4 separate regions of the Homo sapiens genome follow, and regions 1, 3 and 4 are each linked to region 2. Evidence: promoter capture Hi-C in human tissues and cell types (Jung and others, 2019). All regions are on one chromosome and are shown on one strand. Each heading gives the region's core, a stretch centred on a gene start or on the middle of the fragment in contact. The rest is flanking DNA. Distances are from core to core; before and after follow the strand shown. Region 1 holds the start of P2RX4 (purinergic receptor P2X 4). Region 2 overlaps SPPL3 (signal peptide peptidase like 3). Region 3 holds the start of MSI1 (musashi RNA binding protein 1). Region 4 holds the start of P2RX7 (purinergic receptor P2X 7).

Evidence for each region. The method cuts DNA at HindIII sites, captures the fragments that hold promoters and counts their contacts. A contact is called where the count stands out against the background at its distance.
Region 1: a contact is called between the fragment with the promoter of P2RX4 here and a fragment that was not itself captured in region 2, in 8 of the 25 tissues and cell types used here (H1 embryonic stem cells, dorsolateral prefrontal cortex, hippocampus and 5 more).
Region 3: a contact is called between the fragment with the promoter of MSI1 here and a fragment that was not itself captured in region 2, in 4 of the 25 tissues and cell types used here (bladder, dorsolateral prefrontal cortex, liver and 1 more).
Region 4: the fragment with the promoter of P2RX7 here is called in contact with a fragment that was not itself captured in region 2 in 8 of the 25 tissues and cell types used here (H1 embryonic stem cells, IMR-90 fibroblasts, bladder and 5 more).

The regions. Positions count from the first base shown.
Region 1 is chr12:121,208,780-121,212,760 of GRCh38, reverse strand. It overlaps P2RX4 (purinergic receptor P2X 4), which reads right to left and starts at 2,632. Exons shown (of 12, transcript NM_002560.3): 1 at 2,463-2,632. The coding sequence starts at 2,596. It overlaps LOC105370032 (a long non-coding RNA gene), which reads left to right and starts at 2,689. Exons shown (of 4, transcript XR_001749352.3): 1 at 2,689-2,912. RefSeq lists an enhancer at 1,807-1,856 and a silencer at 2,187-2,926. The HindIII fragment of the contact is 10,060 bases long and covers 1-3,981 here.
Region 2 is chr12:120,801,120-120,805,314 of GRCh38, reverse strand. The region is part of intron 2 of SPPL3 (signal peptide peptidase like 3); the gene reads left to right. Among named protein-coding and RNA genes, the nearest start is that of ACADS, 77 kb to the right of the region's middle. The HindIII fragment of the contact is 8,897 bases long and covers 1-4,195 here.
Region 3 is chr12:120,366,510-120,370,589 of GRCh38, reverse strand. MSI1 (musashi RNA binding protein 1) reads left to right here and starts at 1,426. Exons shown (of 15, transcript NM_002442.4): 1 at 1,426-1,557; 2 at 1,717-1,757; 3 at 2,317-2,398; 4 at 2,498-2,582. The coding sequence starts at 1,499. The HindIII fragment of the contact is 19,353 bases long and covers 1-4,080 here.
Region 4 is chr12:121,130,399-121,134,784 of GRCh38, reverse strand. P2RX7 (purinergic receptor P2X 7) reads right to left here and starts at 1,909. Exons shown (of 13, transcript NM_002562.6): 1 at 1,690-1,909. The coding sequence starts at 1,814. All of the region lies in intron 2 of LOC105370032 (a long non-coding RNA gene), which reads left to right. The HindIII fragment of the contact is 21,026 bases long and covers 1-4,386 here.

The DNA.
Region 1 (3,981 bases), core at 1,383-3,882, 410 kb before region 2:
CTGGAGTGCAGTGGCGCAATCTGGGCTCACTGCAACCTCCGCCTCCTGGATTCAAACGATTCTCCTGCCTCAGCCTCCCATGTAGCCGGGATTACAGGCATTAGCCACTAGGCCTGGCTAATTTTTTGTACTTTTAGTAGAGACGGGGTTTTACCATGTTGGCCAGGCTGGTCTCGAACTCCTGACCTCAGGTGATCCACCCGCCTCGGCCTCCCAAAGTGCTGAGATTATAGGCATGAGCCACCGTGTTCAGAAAAAAAAAAAAAAAAAATTCTTTTTTTTGCACTGCTCCATCAGTACAATTTACCATTTTAAACTTTATTTTTCTCTTAGAGATGGGGTCTCGCTATGTTGTCCAGGCTGGTCTTGTGTCCAGGCTGGTCTTGAGCTCCTGGCCTCAAGCAATCCTCCCACCTTGGCTTCCCAAAGCACTGGGACTACAGGTGTGAGCCAATGAGTCCAAATCTGGGTGTGGGCCAGGTGGTTCTGATGTTGAGTCTGCACCTGGAAAGCCATCCTCTTGAATACTGTCTGTATCTACTGCTGCTGCTGACAGATATTGGAAGCCAAACCTGCTTGGGCTTCCCTTGGGCAGTGTTAAGATTCCAAACCTCACCCCAAAGACGGGGGGATCTGTTACTTTTAAACAATTCCTCAGATGAGTCTTCCATGATCAGGTAAACTTGGGAAACACAGTTCATTGGTTCCGAAACGTTGCTGAACATGAGAATCACCTGGGCAGCCGATCATACTCTGCAGCAATTAAATCAGAAGGTCTGGGGATGCGTCTGGGCGCGGTGGCTCACGCCTGTAATCCCAGCACTCTGGGAGGCTGCGGCGGGTGGATCACCTGAGGCCAGGAGTTCGAGACCAGCCTGGCCAACATGGCGAAACCCTGTCCCTACTAAAAATACAAAAATTAGCCGGGCATGGTGGTGGGTGCCTGTAATCCCAGCTACTCAGGAGGCTGAGGCAGGAGAATCGCTTGAACCAGGGAGGTGGAGGTTGCAGCGAGCCAAGATTGCACCACTGCACTCCAGCCTGGGCGACAGAGGGAGACTCCATCAAAAAAATAAAAAAGGGTCTGGGGATGGGAGCCAAAGATTTCCAGATGGTTCCAATGTGCAGTTTGGAGACCACTGCACTAGGCAATACGTGTCAGCCCAGCAGCTGTAGACACCAGAACACCCCAGGTAAGCCTTTAAAGTGGCCCCAGGTGGCAAGGTAATTATCATCTTCTCTCTCGCGTTGTATTCAATTGTAACAGGTGCCAGCCCCGCGTGGGGGCTCACGCCTGTAATCCCAGCATTTTGGGAGGCTGAGGTGGGCGGATCACCTGAGGTCAGTTCAGGACCAGCCTGAAACCCCGTCTCTACTAAAAAATACAAAAATTGGCCGGGCGTGGTGGCGGGCACTTGTAATCCCAGCCACTCAGGAGACTGAGACAGGAGAATTGCTTGAACCCGGGAGGCAGAGGTTGCAGTGAGCCGAGATCGTGCCATTGCACTCCAGCCCGGGCGACAAGAGAGAAATTCCGTCTCAAAAAAATAAAAAAATTAAAAAAGTAACAGGTGCCTTCAAGTACAATGGCACATTCAGCGAGGCCTGAGGGCGGTAGGGCATCTCTAGCCTAAGGGGGCAGCATGGGGAATGACTGACTAGGCTAGGGCAGGTACCACAAAAAGCCCCACAAGCCCAGAAAACAAAGGAAGCAAACTTTAAACACTCGCTACAGTCTGACCTCGCTACTACCACATAGTGACACCGCATAGTGATCAAAAGAAATGACCAAAAGCCACCCACCCAGAAGGAACCAAGCGGAAATTCCAAGCTTTGGTTTTGTCAGCAAATCAGCAGGATGGGAAGTGGAGAGCGAAGATTGAGACGTTCAGGGCGAAGCCCCTACAGCCAAGGGGCACTATGGGGGGTCAGGCAGGAGAGGGTAACAGCCTAGCCAGGCTTTGCCTTTATTTATTTTGTAAACAGACGGGTCTCGGACTGTCTCCCAGGCTCGAGTTAAGTGGTGTGATCATAGCTCACTGCAGCCTCAGCCTCTTGGGCTCAAGCGATCCTCCCACCTCAGCCTCCTGAGTAGCTGGGACCCCAGGCGCGCGCCACCAGGCCCGGATGATTTTTAATTTTTTGCAGAGACGGGGTCCCACGATGTTGCCCAAATTGGTTTCGAACTCCTGGGCTCAGGCGATGGTCCCGCCTCGGGCTCCCAAAGTGCTCGGATTACAGGCTTGCGCCACCGCGCCTGGCCCAGGCTGTGGTTTTAAAACAGCAGCAAGCAGCCTCCCGCCCCCGGGGCCCCGGCGCGGCGGCTGGGGCCCAGGGAAGGTGTCACCGCCTCGGCTCGCCGCTCCCGGACTCGCCCAGGTGACCGAGGCCAGGATGAGCCGCCGCACGGCGCGGACGCGAGGGCAGCACCCGCCGCGCCCCCCGCGCGGCCCCACGCTCACCCGATGACGTAGGCCAGGATGAGCAGTTGCACGGCGCGGTTCATGAGCCCCACTTTGCGGCTGCGGATGAGCACGATGCGCGGCGTGTCGTACTCGAACAGGAAGGCCGCCAGCGCGGCGCAGCAGCCCGCCATGGCCGCGCCGCCCGCTCCCAGTCCCCTAGTCGGTCTGGGTCCCAGTCCCCGCTCGGAGCCCCGCCCAGTCCGCCTGGCCTGCTGGCGGCGCCGTCATCGCGGAGGAGGGCCCGGAAGGAGGCAGCACGGGCGGTCGGGGCCCGGGGCCCGGGGGAGGGCGCCACCTCCCCGTCGGGAACGATGACCCTCTAGGGGGCATGGAACTCGCGGGGGGGGAGTGGCCTCGCCCTTGAGGACGAAAGGCTCCTTCAAAAGGCGGGCGAGGGGCCGGGGGCGGTGGCTCACACCTGTCATCCCAGCACTTGCGGAGGCCGAGGTGAGAGGAATCTTGAGTTAGAGACCAGCCTGGACAACATAGCGAGACCTCGTCTCTATCAAAAATACAAAAAAAAAAAAAAAAAAAAAAAAAAAGCGGGCGTAGTGGCGCTCGCCTGTAGTCCCAGGGAGGCTGAGGTGAGAGGATCGCTTGAGCCCAGGAGGTAGAGGCTGCCGTGTGAGCTGTGATCGCGCCACTGCACTCCAGTCTGGGAGATGAAGCGAGACCCTGCCTCAATAAACCAGAAACCAAAAAACAACAAAAAAGGCGAGTTGGGGAGTAATGACCTTCTCAGGAGGGCCAGAGAGAACAAGAGACCCTTTCGGGGAAGATGGGGTCCGCGAAGAGAGAGTGACCTCCCATTTGGGACAGAGTTCAAGTGAGGGGTAACGAGCGACCTCCCTTAGGGGTACTGATAGGTGCCAGGGATTTCCGTAGAGGACCCCGGGGCTGTGCGGAGTAGCCATCGCTCACGAGTGCGGGCTCCTAAACTTGGGCAGCTGTGGTTGGGGGAGCTGGGGCCGCGCTGTCCTTAGCCTCTTGGGGAACAGCCTAAATATCAGGTGTCCTGTGAGCCCTGGGTGAGAGCCACACGCCCTGTAAAATACCCCTCCTGGATTTGAAGCCTGGTCGCATTCTCACTCCAAATACTTCCTTAGTTGCAGCCCAGGGGAGATAATTCTGTGGTCATCCTTTCCACTGAGAAAATGCTATCACAACTTTAGGAGAGAAAATAGTGAAAGGGGGGGAAACAGCCACCGTTCTACCCCATGAATACAATTTTCCGCATGTGTATTTGTTCATTCCCTTCAGATACGTTTTTTCTTTTTCTTTTTCTTTTTTTTTTTGAGACGGAGTTTCACTCTTGTCCAGTCTGGAGTGCAGTGGCGCGATCTCGGCTCACTGTAACCTCCGCCTCCCAGGTTCAAGCAATTCTCCTGCCTCAGCCTCTTGAGTAGCTGGGATTACAAGTGCCCGCCACCACGCCCAGCTAATTTTTGTATTTTTATTAGAGACAGGTTTTCACCATGTTGGCCAGGCTGATCTCCAGCTCCTGACCTCCCATGAT
Region 2 (4,195 bases), core at 530-3,029:
TGTTCTTATGCTTCTATTGAGTTGATCCTGTGGTTTTTGTCCATTTAATTTATATAGTATATTTTAACAGCTTTATTGAGAGATAAATACCATAAAGTTTGGTCACTTAAAGTATACAATTCAGTGGGTTTTAGTTTATTTACAAAATTGTTCAGCCGTCACTGTAATCCAATTTTAGCACATTATCATCCCAAAAGAAAATTTGTACCAGTTAGCAGTCATTCCCATTCCTCTTTCCCTGCCCGCCAGCCCTAGGCAACCATGAATCTACCTTTTATCTCTATAGATTTGCCTATTCTGGACCTCTCGTATAAGTGGTGTCATACAGTATGTGACCTTTTGTTACTGGCTTCTTTCACTTAGCATGTTTTTGAAGTTTATCTGTGTTGTAGCATGTTATCAGTATTTCATTCCTTTTTATTACTGAATAATACTTTTTGTTTTTCCATTCATTGGCTGATAGACGTTTGGGTTGTTTCCCTTTTTTGGCTTTTATGAATAATGTTACTGTGAACATTTGTGTACAAGTTTCTGTGCAGACATAACATATTTATTGCCCTCAAGCAGATACCTAGTAGCAGAATTGCTGGGTCTAATGGTAACTCTTAGTCTTAACATTTTAAGAAATGCTTCTGTTTTCCAAGGCAGCTATGCTATTGTACATTCCCACTAGCAATGTATGAGGTTTCCAATTTCTCCACTTCTTCACCAACACTTGTTATTATCTATCTTTATGATTATAGCTATTCTACTGTTCTGGTGGGTATGAAGTGGTATCTCATTATAATTTTGGTTTGCATTTTCTTAATGCCTACTGATGTTGAGCATCTTTTCATGTGCCCATTTGCCATCTATGTCTCTTCTTTGGTGTCTTTTCAACTCTTCTGTCCATTTTTAAATTGGGTTTTCTTTTTCTTGTTGAATTTTGAGTGTTCTTTCTTTATTGTGAAAATGGGTTTTTGTTATAAGTGCCTCTGGGTTTGTCTTTTCACTTTCTGTATGCTTATAATTGTTATCTATTTCTTGACTTTTATAAAATGTTCCTCTTTATCTCTAGTAACAGTTTCTGTCTTAACATTGTCCAAAAAAGGCTATTTAGATTTTCTTGAGTTAGTTTTTGGTCATTTGTATTATAACTCAAGAGTAACTAGTTCCTTTTTTGTAAAGGCAAGCACCTACCAATGCTTTCTTAGGTAATGAGGGCAGTTCATTTACGTATACCCAAACCTACTCTAGGAAGACAACATCAGGTTAGTAAGCCTGCAGAGATGCTGAGTTCTTTAATAAGAACTATACTTGATATGATTGTGATGCCCTTCATTCTAAGTGCATATAATTGTAGTTAGACCATGGTTCACCAGAACAAGTGTCACTATGGTTCACAATTGTCATGATGTTCTAATTGTGTGTAATATGTTGATTAACTTTTGAGCTACCCTTTTTGTCATTCCATAACTCGTCCTACTTGAAGAAAACATCATACACAGAAGCCTGAACTTGTTAGATGACGTAGGGAATGATTTTGTCCATTGCAGCGTGTGTAGACAAGTTTTTTTATATATTTAAGAATTTCATCAATTCACTATTAAATGTTCAATTTATAAAACCACTGTAAGTTTTCTAGGAACACATATTTAACTTAACCTAACTTTAACCATGTAATGTTTACCTTGAACCAGTGAGTCCCCGCTTCATTGTACTCACTTTCAATAGTAGAATTATCAAAAAACTTTCTTTTTAAAATTTTTTATAAATTAAAATTTTATTATTTTTTCATTTTTTCACTCCTTTCTGGAGCTGAGAAAAAAATAATGTTAAGGTTAAAAATTCCAATTTGCTTTTCTCCTCCAGTAATTCACAGTGTCCTCAGGTATCAGAATGCAAATGGATGAACGAGTATAACTTTCAATAAACTGATCTGCTCTCCCCTCCATTTTGCTTCCTACAATTGTTTATTTGTGCTCTTCACTGCCCGATTTCAGAGCATGTACTAACTTTTGCAAGTTACTTCAAGGAAAAATAAAATGGGGCCAAAGAAAACTAAAAGTATGAGTGGAGACAAAATAGAGCCAAAAAAGAAATGTAAAAATGCATACCATAATGCCAGCACTCCTGTTACTAGTGTTTCACAAGGACCACCATAAGCTTTGTAGCAGCCAGATTTAAAAAGAAAGAATGTAAAACTCAGCTTCCTTCCATCAAAAGAACTCAGTTGTTCAGGTGAATCGCAACTGTTCTTGGCCTTAAGATCAGACAGACTTTTATCCTAACGACCTTCATAAAGAGGATATAATGTTAAGTTCATTCATCTCACAGTAGGCATTCAAATAAGTGTTTGTTGAATGAATTGTAGTACCTTCAATATAAGTTGGTGGCATTGCATGAAAATGTATTTCAGCAAAAGCAGTTTTGCCAAAATTGAAGGTGCACAGTGGGCAACAGGATGTTGTTGTTTAGATAACCATCTTACTGCTAAGTGTGGTCTAAGGTTATATTTTGGAATATCTGGAGAATGAATGGGCTGTTAATTCTTAAACTGGTTATTCTTGAATGTTGATCTGTTAATAAATATTGGTAGCAGACCAGGCACGGTGGCTCACGCTTGTAATCCCAGCATGTTCAGAGGCCAAGGTGGGAGGATCACGTGAGGTCAGGAGTTCCAAGACCAGCCTGGCCAACATGGTGAAACTCCATCTCTACTCAAAATACAAAAATTAGCCAGGCGTGTTGATGCATGCCTGTAATCCCAGCTACTCAGGAGGCTGAGGCAGGAGAATCGCTTGAACTGGGAGGCAGAGGTTGCAGTGAGCCGAGATTGCGCCACTGCACTCCAGCCTGGGCCACAAACTGAGACTCCATCTCAAAAAGGAAAAAAAAAAAAAATATATATATATATATACACACACACACACACACATATATGTGTATATATATACATATATATGTATATATATACACACATACATACATACATACATATATAAAAGCAGCAGCCCAAAAATGTATTATGTTGCCAGCTAAATACAGACCTAGTTGTCTTAACAGCACTCATGGTGCATTCGTATTTTTATCAGAATGAAGGAACCTAATACCTAAATATAAGCCCATGTTTCCCCTTGTCCTGAGGCAGGCAGTGGAAGTTCCTAAAGGCAGGCCTAGAATCTTCCTCAGAAAATCCTTTTTAATCCACTCTAGGACATAAAGAAATGAGTAGTTGATTTCCTAAAGTTCTGTTCCTTGCAACTGAATTAATTCTAGCCTGAAACAAATTTAGGGCAAATATAACCAGATCTCTACCTCAGCCACACTAAAATCTTATTAAGGCACTCACAGAATATTAATATACTTCTTGATATAGTGTCTGTAATAAACTTCATGTGAAATGTACATCAAAGTGACCAAAACACCAAACTGGAATTTATACTTACACCCAATTTAAAGTTGAAGAATGTTGATGAGTTGTCATTCTAACTGACACTAATTAGCTGACAGGGTCAGTGGCCATCTGGACCTTACCCAGTTCAAGGCTAAACCATATCATTCACCTATAAAGCCTGCTGGTCTTAATATTTCTCTGTAGTAAGACAGCTCATGTGCAGCTTATCTAAAAATGATACCAGATCAAGTTTACTTGGGGAGAAATACTCTGTAGGTTTTTTTGTTTGTTTGTTTTTATGAGAAAAAAGCAGTATATACTAATGTGGAAAGATGTAGCGCGTCAAGCAGTGAGCCCATTACTTGGTGTAACAGGGCCAAGGGAAAACTTCCTCTGTGCCCCCTGAATCCTCGCTGAAAAATCCACTGACAAATAGCAGATTAATAGAAAAGGCATACAGATTTGTTAATGTGCACAAAAGTCTTACAAAATATAAGATCTCAAAAAAAAAAAATGGCCAGATGGCTGATGCTTTTATACCACCTTGAGGTTACAGAAAGAATGAGGGCTTGGAGTGTGGCAAGACAGGTTATGGTGGTAAATCAGGTTATGGTGGTGAGACAGATTATGAGAGAGAGAGAAGAGGAGGCCCAGCTAGCACAGGTGGTCCTGTCATGTAGATGAAACCTCACAGGTCGCAGCCCTGAGAGAGAATAGATGGAATATGTTTCTTTCTGACCTTCTAAGGTGTCAGACTCTCAATTAATCTTTCCTGTGTCTGGACAAGGTAGGGCCTCAGAGAAATGCCTCCACCTCATC
Region 3 (4,080 bases), core at 177-2,676, 430 kb after region 2:
GATATGGAGAGGTGGGAATATGGAGAGGTGGGGATATGGAGAGGCGGGGATAAGGAGAGGTGGGGATAAGGAGAGTGGCCCCGCAGCTCCCCTGGTGAACCAGAATACTTTCTCAGGGTTGTTCCCAGGCTGGAGGGAGGGAATTTTAGGGGTACGTAAGGTGACTCCAAGGAGCCTTGGGTGCAAGTACTGGGGGATCCCAGAGACCCAGAAGATGGGGGTAGAAAGGAAGGTGTTTGCCTTCACGGGGAGTAGCCTCAAAATAAGAGGGACTGAGGGAAGTCATTCCAAATGCAGTGGGTAGGTAGTTTAGGCTCTTCCAATGGGATGGGGTGGAGCTTAGACCTCTGCAAAAGAAGGGGGTCATTCGGAGGGGACGGTGCACAGCTGAGGCGTTGGGCTCCTAAACTGGAAACAGGAGGCTCTAAGAGGCACTGCCTTTTCCTCCAGCCTCGGTGTGGTGGGGGTGGTGAGTGTCTGGAACCGGGTTTCCCGAATCAGGACAGGAGTCTGAATGGATCTCACAAAAACCGGCCAGGGAGGGAGAGAACCAGGGGAGACTCCTCACACCGGGAGGTGGGGGTGGCGGCAAACTGAGAACCCGGGCTTGGGGCGCGGGATTTTCTCAACAGACCATAGGGTCCACTAATGTGGACGGCAGGGATTTGGGGAAACTAAGGGGGACTCTCACTTTGGACACCAAGGGCTGAGGACGGATTGGGGAAGAGGATACGGTTTCTACTGGGGTGCTGATGGAGGTTCCCCACTCGGGACGCGAGGCACTGAGTGGGTCCCCCAAACTGGATATGGGATCCTGGGAACGGAGCGAGGGCTCTAAATTAGAGCCCTGGGGTGGGGGTGGGGGGCTGTAAATTAGGTTGGGAGGAAACTGGGGGCTCTGAGGGCGGCTTCTCGCTCCGACTGGGGAAATGGAGCATGTGGGGACTGGGGAGCACTAGGGCTATCTCCCGCCCGACCCGAGGAGATTGGGGTTCTCTTCAATTCTGGACAGCAGGGACCTGAGAGGGAAGACCGGGGGGGTTCCCGATCCGGAACCGAGCTACCTTGAAGGCACCGGGAAGCGCTTCATTCCGGGAGGGCGTTCCCGCGGCCGGGCCCCCGCGCCGGGGTGGGTGGGGGGTGCGGCCGCGCCCTGGTCCCGGCCCGCACCGGGATTCGGGGGTCTCGCTCGGCCCCGGAGACCCAGGAGCCCCGCGGGAAGGGGGTCCCGGCGCCGCCGCCTCCGCGGGCGCCCGGGCTCGCGGGCGAGCGCGGGGCTTTATGCGCGCAGGGCGGCGGGGGGAGGAGCCGGCAGGTCGGCCCCCGGCGGGCCCTCCCCTCGGCCGTCCCCGCCCGCCCGCCCGAGCGGGGTCGGGGGAGGGGGCAGCATGGCCTGTCCGTCCGGCCCCCTTCGCCGCGCTCCTCATCTGCCCCGCGCCGAGCGCCGCCGCCGCCGCCGCCGCCGCCGCTCCGCTGCCCGCGCCGCCCGCGGCTCCCGATGGAGACTGACGCGCCCCAGCCCGGCCTCGCCTCCCCGGACTCGCCGCACGACCCCTGGTACGGCCCGGCCCGGCCTGCTTGGCCCGCGCCCGCCCCGGCCCCGCCAACATGGCCGATCCGGGTCCGGCCGGGCCTCCCCGGAGCCCGGGCCCGCGCCCCCTGCGCCCTGGCGCCCGGCGCTCACGCGGGCCCTTTGTGTCTCTCCTCCTCCCGCAGCAAGATGTTCATCGGGGGACTCAGTTGGCAGACTACGCAGGGTGAGCGAGCCCGGGAGCGCCCGCCGGTCCGGCAGGGCACCCCGGACCCCCCGGCGCCCCGGACCCGGACACCCCAGCCCGGCCCTGCGCCCTGCTGACCCCGGGCGCCCTCGCGCCCTCTTTCGCGCCCCGCCCGGAGACCCCGAGAGCGCAGGGCGATCCGCGAGCGCACCCGGCCCAGCGGGTGGAGGGGAGCAGATGAGGGGTTCAGGGGGTATCGGGGGGTGGGCTGGGCCCCCGGGACCCGCCGGCGGCAGCGCCAACTCCGCTCGCACCTGCGGCTCAAACTTTTGTGAGGCTGCTCCCGGAGCGGCGGGAACCCGGCCGGAGCCGTCCCCCTTCCAGCCCAGCTCGGCCCTCGGCTTCCCGGGGCCCCGGTGGGCGCCAGGAGGCTCAGCGGGAACGGGGCGAGGGCGGTGGGGGGCGGCGGCAGTGGAGAACGCGCGGGCAGCTTGGCGCGGGGGCGGCCGGGCCGCTCCGGGGTCACCGGGGGCAAAGGACGGGGGGGGGGGAAGGGCGCGGGGCCCGGGCTGGTCCGAAGGCGGGTGTGTGGTTACAGAAGGGCTGCGCGAATACTTCGGCCAGTTCGGGGAGGTGAAGGAGTGTCTGGTGATGCGGGACCCCCTGACCAAGAGATCCAGGTGAGCCCCTCACCCCCTCCTCCTGCTCCCGGCTCGCCCCCCTCCACCCGCCACTCACTGCCTTGTAACCATCTGCCTCTCCCTCACTACGGCGCGCAGGGGTTTCGGCTTCGTCACTTTCATGGACCAGGCGGGGGTGGATAAAGTGCTGGCGCAATCGCGGCACGAGCTCGACTCCAAAACAGTGAGTGGCCCTCGGGGCTTCGGGGGTCCTTTGGGAGAGGGAGGCTGCCGGAGGAGAGGGTCAGGACTCTCCCCAGGGGACAGCTGGACGGGGTCCATGAGGAAGGAGGGAGTTTTTCTGAGTAAGAGGGCTGCCATGCTCTGAAACTTTGTCACTAGAGTTGGGGGGGAGAGGGAGGAGAAAAATCCCTGGCCTGCCATGAGATGCTACATCCCCCCTCCCCTAGTCCTGGTGAGGGGAGAGGCAGCCGCCACCCTCTCCCTAGAAGTACTAATCATGATGCCTCAGAGCAGAGCTTGGGGTGGGGCTAGGTCCCTCCCCCAGCCCAAATTGGGTGAGTCAGGGTAGCACTGACCCACCCGGTGGCTTCTGTGAACTCTAACTAGTATTTGGCTCTGCGACACCCCCTCTTCATCCAGACCAATGGCAAAGCATCCCTTGAAGCCCCCTCCCTCTCTCCTTCCCTCCTCCCCCGACTTTTGGTCAATGAGCTCCTTGCTTTGTGTGGAAGACAGGGACCTGCTTTGCCCACGGAGGGGATTTATGAGAAAGGCTCTAGCTTGCCTGGAAACGACCCTTCGGAAGACTAGATCTTAGGAGAAGCTGCTTGGTTGGCATTCAAACTCATGGAACATTTTGCTGTTGTCCCACAGCTCCTTCGTGTCTTAGACCCTGCAGGGGGCGCTGGCTCCAGGGCAGATGGAAAAGTAGAAAAGTCAGAGGAGGGGGTTACTCCCATGTGATGGGGGTGTCTGTCTGCTGGGGGCAGGGATAGTGTGGATCTCTTCTCTCCATGCTTCCCTGCTGTCCCCCAGCCTTGGGCCTCTCTGCTTGGGTCAGTCCCTGGCTCCCGTTTACCTGCAACAATAGCTGCTTGTGCCCAAGAATTTGTCAAATTACCGCCTGTCCCCAGCTCCTGTTATCTCTGCCCAGTGGCTCCCGCTCCCGCTCGCAGTAATGAGCAAATGAGGCCAGGCCTCAACTTTGCCGGCTCTGAAAGGATCTTCTTGGCGCAGCCTGAGTGACCCAAGCCTGGAAATGGAGAGACAGTGGCCTATTGTTTTTGGTGATTATCTGCCATCAAGCTGCCTGTTCTGCTACCATCCCCTGTCCTCAGAATGCACTGATGGCTTCTGCAGTGCTGAGGAAGCTGAGATTTAGGGGCTGGGGGATGGAGGAGTGGAAGATTGATAAAGGGGAAGAGAATGAGGGAGGAAGGAGGGTGAGATGAGCATCCTTAGGAGATGGGGCTGAAAAGGGCCAGGGCTTTGTCTGTGTTTGGCGTCCTCCAGCCTGGGAAAGGGGGTGGGAGGGAGGTTTACTGTGGGGAGTCTATTTTGAGCTCTGACTTTCACCTTTTATTTACTTGTTGGGTTTTATTTATGTTGCCAGCTGTGAGTCACAGTGGAGGTGGGGTGTGTCAGGGATGGGGTGTGCGTGGGTCTGTGGGATCGTGGCTTGGGTACCATCTCCCCATCGGGGTCTGTGTAGGGGGACT
Region 4 (4,386 bases), core at 660-3,159, 330 kb before region 2:
AGGCACTCACCATCAGGGAAATTCAAATCACAACCACAATGAACTACCACTTCACACCCACTAGCATGGCTATAATAAAAAAGACAGACAATCAGCCGGGCGTGGCGGCTCATGCCTGTAATCCCAGCACTTTGGGAGGCCAAGGTGGGCGGATCACTTGAGGTCAGGAGTTTGAGACCAGCCTGGCCTACATGGCGAAACCTCATCTCTACTAAAAATACAAAAATTAGTGAGGAGTGGTGACGCACACCTGTAATCCCAGCTACTCATGAGGCTGAGGCAGGAGAATCGCTTGAACCGGGGAGGTGGAGGTTGCAGTGAGCCAAGATTGCGCCACTGCACTCCAGCCTGGGCAACAGAGCAAGACTTCATCTCAAAGACAAAAACAAAATGACAACAACAAAACCCAAAAAGACAGACGATAACAAGCGTTGGTGAGGATGTGGAGAAATTGGATCCCTCATACTCTGCTGATAGGAATGTAAAAAACTGCAGCTGCTGTGAAATTCAGCTCCACATTCCCCCCAAAGGTGAAACATAGTTAACATATGACCTAGCAATTTTTACTCTTAGGTACATATTCGAGAGAAAGGAGAATATATATCCACATAAAACCTTGTACACAAATGTTCATGTGGCATTATTCATGATAGCCAAAAAAGAGAAACAACCCCAATGTCCATCAATGGATGAATGGATAGAAAAAAGTGGTCTATCCATGCAATGGAGTACTACTCAGCCGTAAAAAGGAATGAAGTATCAGCCGGGTGCAATGGCTCACGCCTGTAATCCTGACACTTTGGGAGGCCGAGGCAGGCAGATCACTTGAGTCCAGGAGTTTGAGACCAGCCTGGACAAAATAGTGAGACCCCGTCTCTTTAAAAAAAAAAATTGAATGAAGTATCAACACATGCTACAACATGGATGAGCATTGAAAACACGCTAAGTGCCACAAAGGACCACATATTATGTGATTCCATTTATATGAAATGTCCAGAATCGGCAAATCCATAGAGGCAGAAAGGAAATTGATGGGTGGGAAGGAGGAGGAACAGTGTTGGAAATGATGGTGAAGGAGTGTGGGATTCCTTTTGAGTCGATTAAAATATTCTAAAATTGATTGTGGGGATGGTTGCACAACTCTGGGAATAATCTGAAAATCATTAAATGGTACCCTTTAAATGGGTCAATTGTATGGTGTATAAATTATATCTCAGTAAGTTTCTTTTAGAAGAAACAAAAACCAAAAAGCAGGGCCTTCCTGACGTTGGTGAGGACCTAAAGTTATAACACATTTTCAAGCCTGGTCCTATTCCTCCCAAGCATGGTGACTCAGATGCCAGCATGATCACCAGGCGTGCCCTGAGATCCTCGCCTCCTCCCTGGGGATCCAGGGTGTTGCCCTGCGCTTTCCTACCTTCCCCAGGCACGCCCTGCCCTGCGCGCCCTGGCGGGCCTGAAGTAGAGCAGAAAGGAATCCCGCTTGTCCTGTGGCTTCTCTCTGCTGCAGCCTGGCACCGTTTCCTCTTGCCTGCTGCTGCTTCCTCCCTCCCGCCCAGCTGGCTGTGAGAGCACGTCTCAGATTCGAAAACCATGTGAGATTCAGAATGTGCACCTGAAGCTGCCCGCTGGGGCTTTCTGTGCTGTCGGCCACTGCAGAGATCTGGGTCCTCCCCAGATCCCACTTACCAAACGTAGGAAAAGATGATCACGTGGAAGAACCACTTAATGGTGCCATAATTCATGCTCTGGATCCGAGTGACTTTGTTCGTCTCATACTGGAAAACATCACTGCAGCTGCAGCAGGCCGGCATGGTGACAGCCTCCCTCCCTGCGCGGAGCTGGACCAGAGCTCTACTCTTCCTGACAGGGCCACAGCAAGCCCCCTCCCAGTAACTGCAAAATGAAACGTACTGGTTTTTAGCAGGAGTCTTTAACTTCAAGCTCCTCCAATGACTGCAGAGTTGGGGCGGGCCCTGGCAGTGGCCCCACATGTGGCTGTGATAAACAAGAAGCGCCAAGTCCTACGGGCCTGGCTGGCAGATGACCTCACCCCAGCTGGCCTCCCCCAGATGCCTACACAAAGATGGTGTTCAGAGGATGGGCATTTTTAGAATTCTCCCTTTTCCCCCCTTTCCTTTCACTTTTTTGGTCTCATGTCTCTTGGGAGAAAGGGGCAGCCTTGCAAATGTCACAAGACTGGGAGCTTCCATTATGCCTCAGAAAAGGACTGAGATCTTTCCATTGCCTGAAGCCCCACTCAGAGATTGATTCATTCATTTCTACAACCCTTTATTCAGCCCCTGATGTATAGGAGCTCTGGGTAAATGAAGATCTCCCCCTCTTCTTCCACCGCCCCTTATAATACTCTGGTCTGCAGTTGGTGGGGGAAATCAGATTTGCAGGGGTAGGGGTGGTGGGGGTGGAGGGGCTTTATTTTTCTGCCAGATCTTTCATGCTTGACCCTCTGAGTTACTCTCCACCCTCCTCTGCACCCCGGCAGGTCGATCTATGACCTAGACCAATCAGCCAAAGATCACCAGGGACACAGTGGCAGTCCAACAAAGTTAGGTTTGTTGACCTATTCAGTGAGGGACACCACCCACCAGAAGAGCTACGCACATCACCAAACAAAGGAAAACAGCAATTTATTATAGGATTCCGAGGAAAGTGGAGTTGAGATAAAATCTAAATGAAGTCATGTTTTGATGGACTCAAAGCAAAACAGGTTTGTACAAAGCAGTCAACTTCAGTCTGGATTGCAAAGAGGACCCAGGGCCCTGTTTCCTAGGAAGCAACATAGCTAAGATACATGTCAAATGTGTCCAGAAAATCTTTATCTGAAGCTCTGCTCCTGAGTTGTAAATTGAGGCTGCTTCTCTGTGTCAAGATGACTTAAATCTTCCAGGCAAAATTGGAATATTTCAGTCTTAGTCATGTAATTTCAAACAGCAAAGTTTCTGAAGGTCTCTGATTTTAAAGGACAATGTTTCAGCAGTCACTCAAAGATGCAGGGTTGTATTATCACTTTACAGCTACAGAGAATTATTGTTCCCTGTTATCTTTACAGCTGGCTTGATCCCTTTCTGTTATTCCAGCCTGCTAAGTGGCCGGGTAGATTTTCAGTTTTTCAGTCTAAACTAATTGTACTTTCTCACACATACAAACTGCATCAGGGTTCCCCTCACCTTCTGGCTTCCAGTTCAGGAGACTGGAGAGCAGTGAGGATGGACGTGACTCCCTGGCCCTGCCCTTCTCAGTTGCATATAGGCAGGGCTTCTGGGCACCACTCCCTCCTTTAGTCCTGGGAGTGGTAAGGGCTCCCCACTCTTACCAGCCCCAGGAAGCTCACTATCTCCTATTGCTTTTTCTTAACTCTGTCCACACCTTTGTAAATGGTTCCATCATTAGTTACCCCACTTGAGTATGCCATTGCTTTCCTGCCGGGAATCTGAGTGATACGGTCATCTTCATCTGTAAAAAGAGGAGATTCACAGGTAAAGCCTGATGCTTAGAACATAGGCTCTAGGGGACTAATGGCCTGGCTTCCGATCCTGGCTTCACATCTTACCAGCTCTGTGACCCTGGACAGCTCTGTTTATGCTATTCATTCACTCATTCCCAAGAGCACCAGGAATAGTAGATATGGCAGTGAACAGGCAGACAAGTCAAATGTCCATCAGCTGATGGATGGATACACAAAAGCACGAAAGCCCATACAAGGGAATATTATTCAGCCATAAAAAGGAATGAAACACTGACCCATGCTCCAACATGGATGAACCTTGAAAACACTACGCTTAAGTGAAAGAGGCCAGACACAAAAGGATACATCTTTTACGACTCCATTTATAGGAAATGTCCAGAATAGGCAAATCACTTCAGTGTTGCTCTTGCTACCACTCAAAGACATCTATTTTCTTGTCTTTCTTTCTTTCTCTTTTCTTTCTTTCTTTTTTTTTTTTTTTTTTTTTTTTTGTTTTTTTGAGATGGAGTCTCCCCCTGTTGCCCAGGCTGTAGTGCAGTGGCAAGACTTTGGGTCACTGCAACCCCTGCCTCCTGGGTTCAAGCGATTCTTGTGCCTCAGCCTCATGAGTATCTGCAATTACAGCCATGCGCACGCTCAGCTGATTTTTGTGTTTTTAGTAGAGATGGGGTTTCACCATGTTGGCTAGGTTGGTCTCGAACTCCTGGTCACAAGCGATCTGCCCGCCTTAGCCTACCAAAGTGTTGGGATTACAGGCGTGAGCCACTACACCCGGCCTGTTTGTTGTCTTTCTGCTGCACTCTTGCACTGGTCCCTCATGCTCTCCCCTCTCCACTCCTTCAGCCCTTGTCCGCTATTTCATCACTGCTACCTCCTCCACTCCATGGATTCTGTTCTCA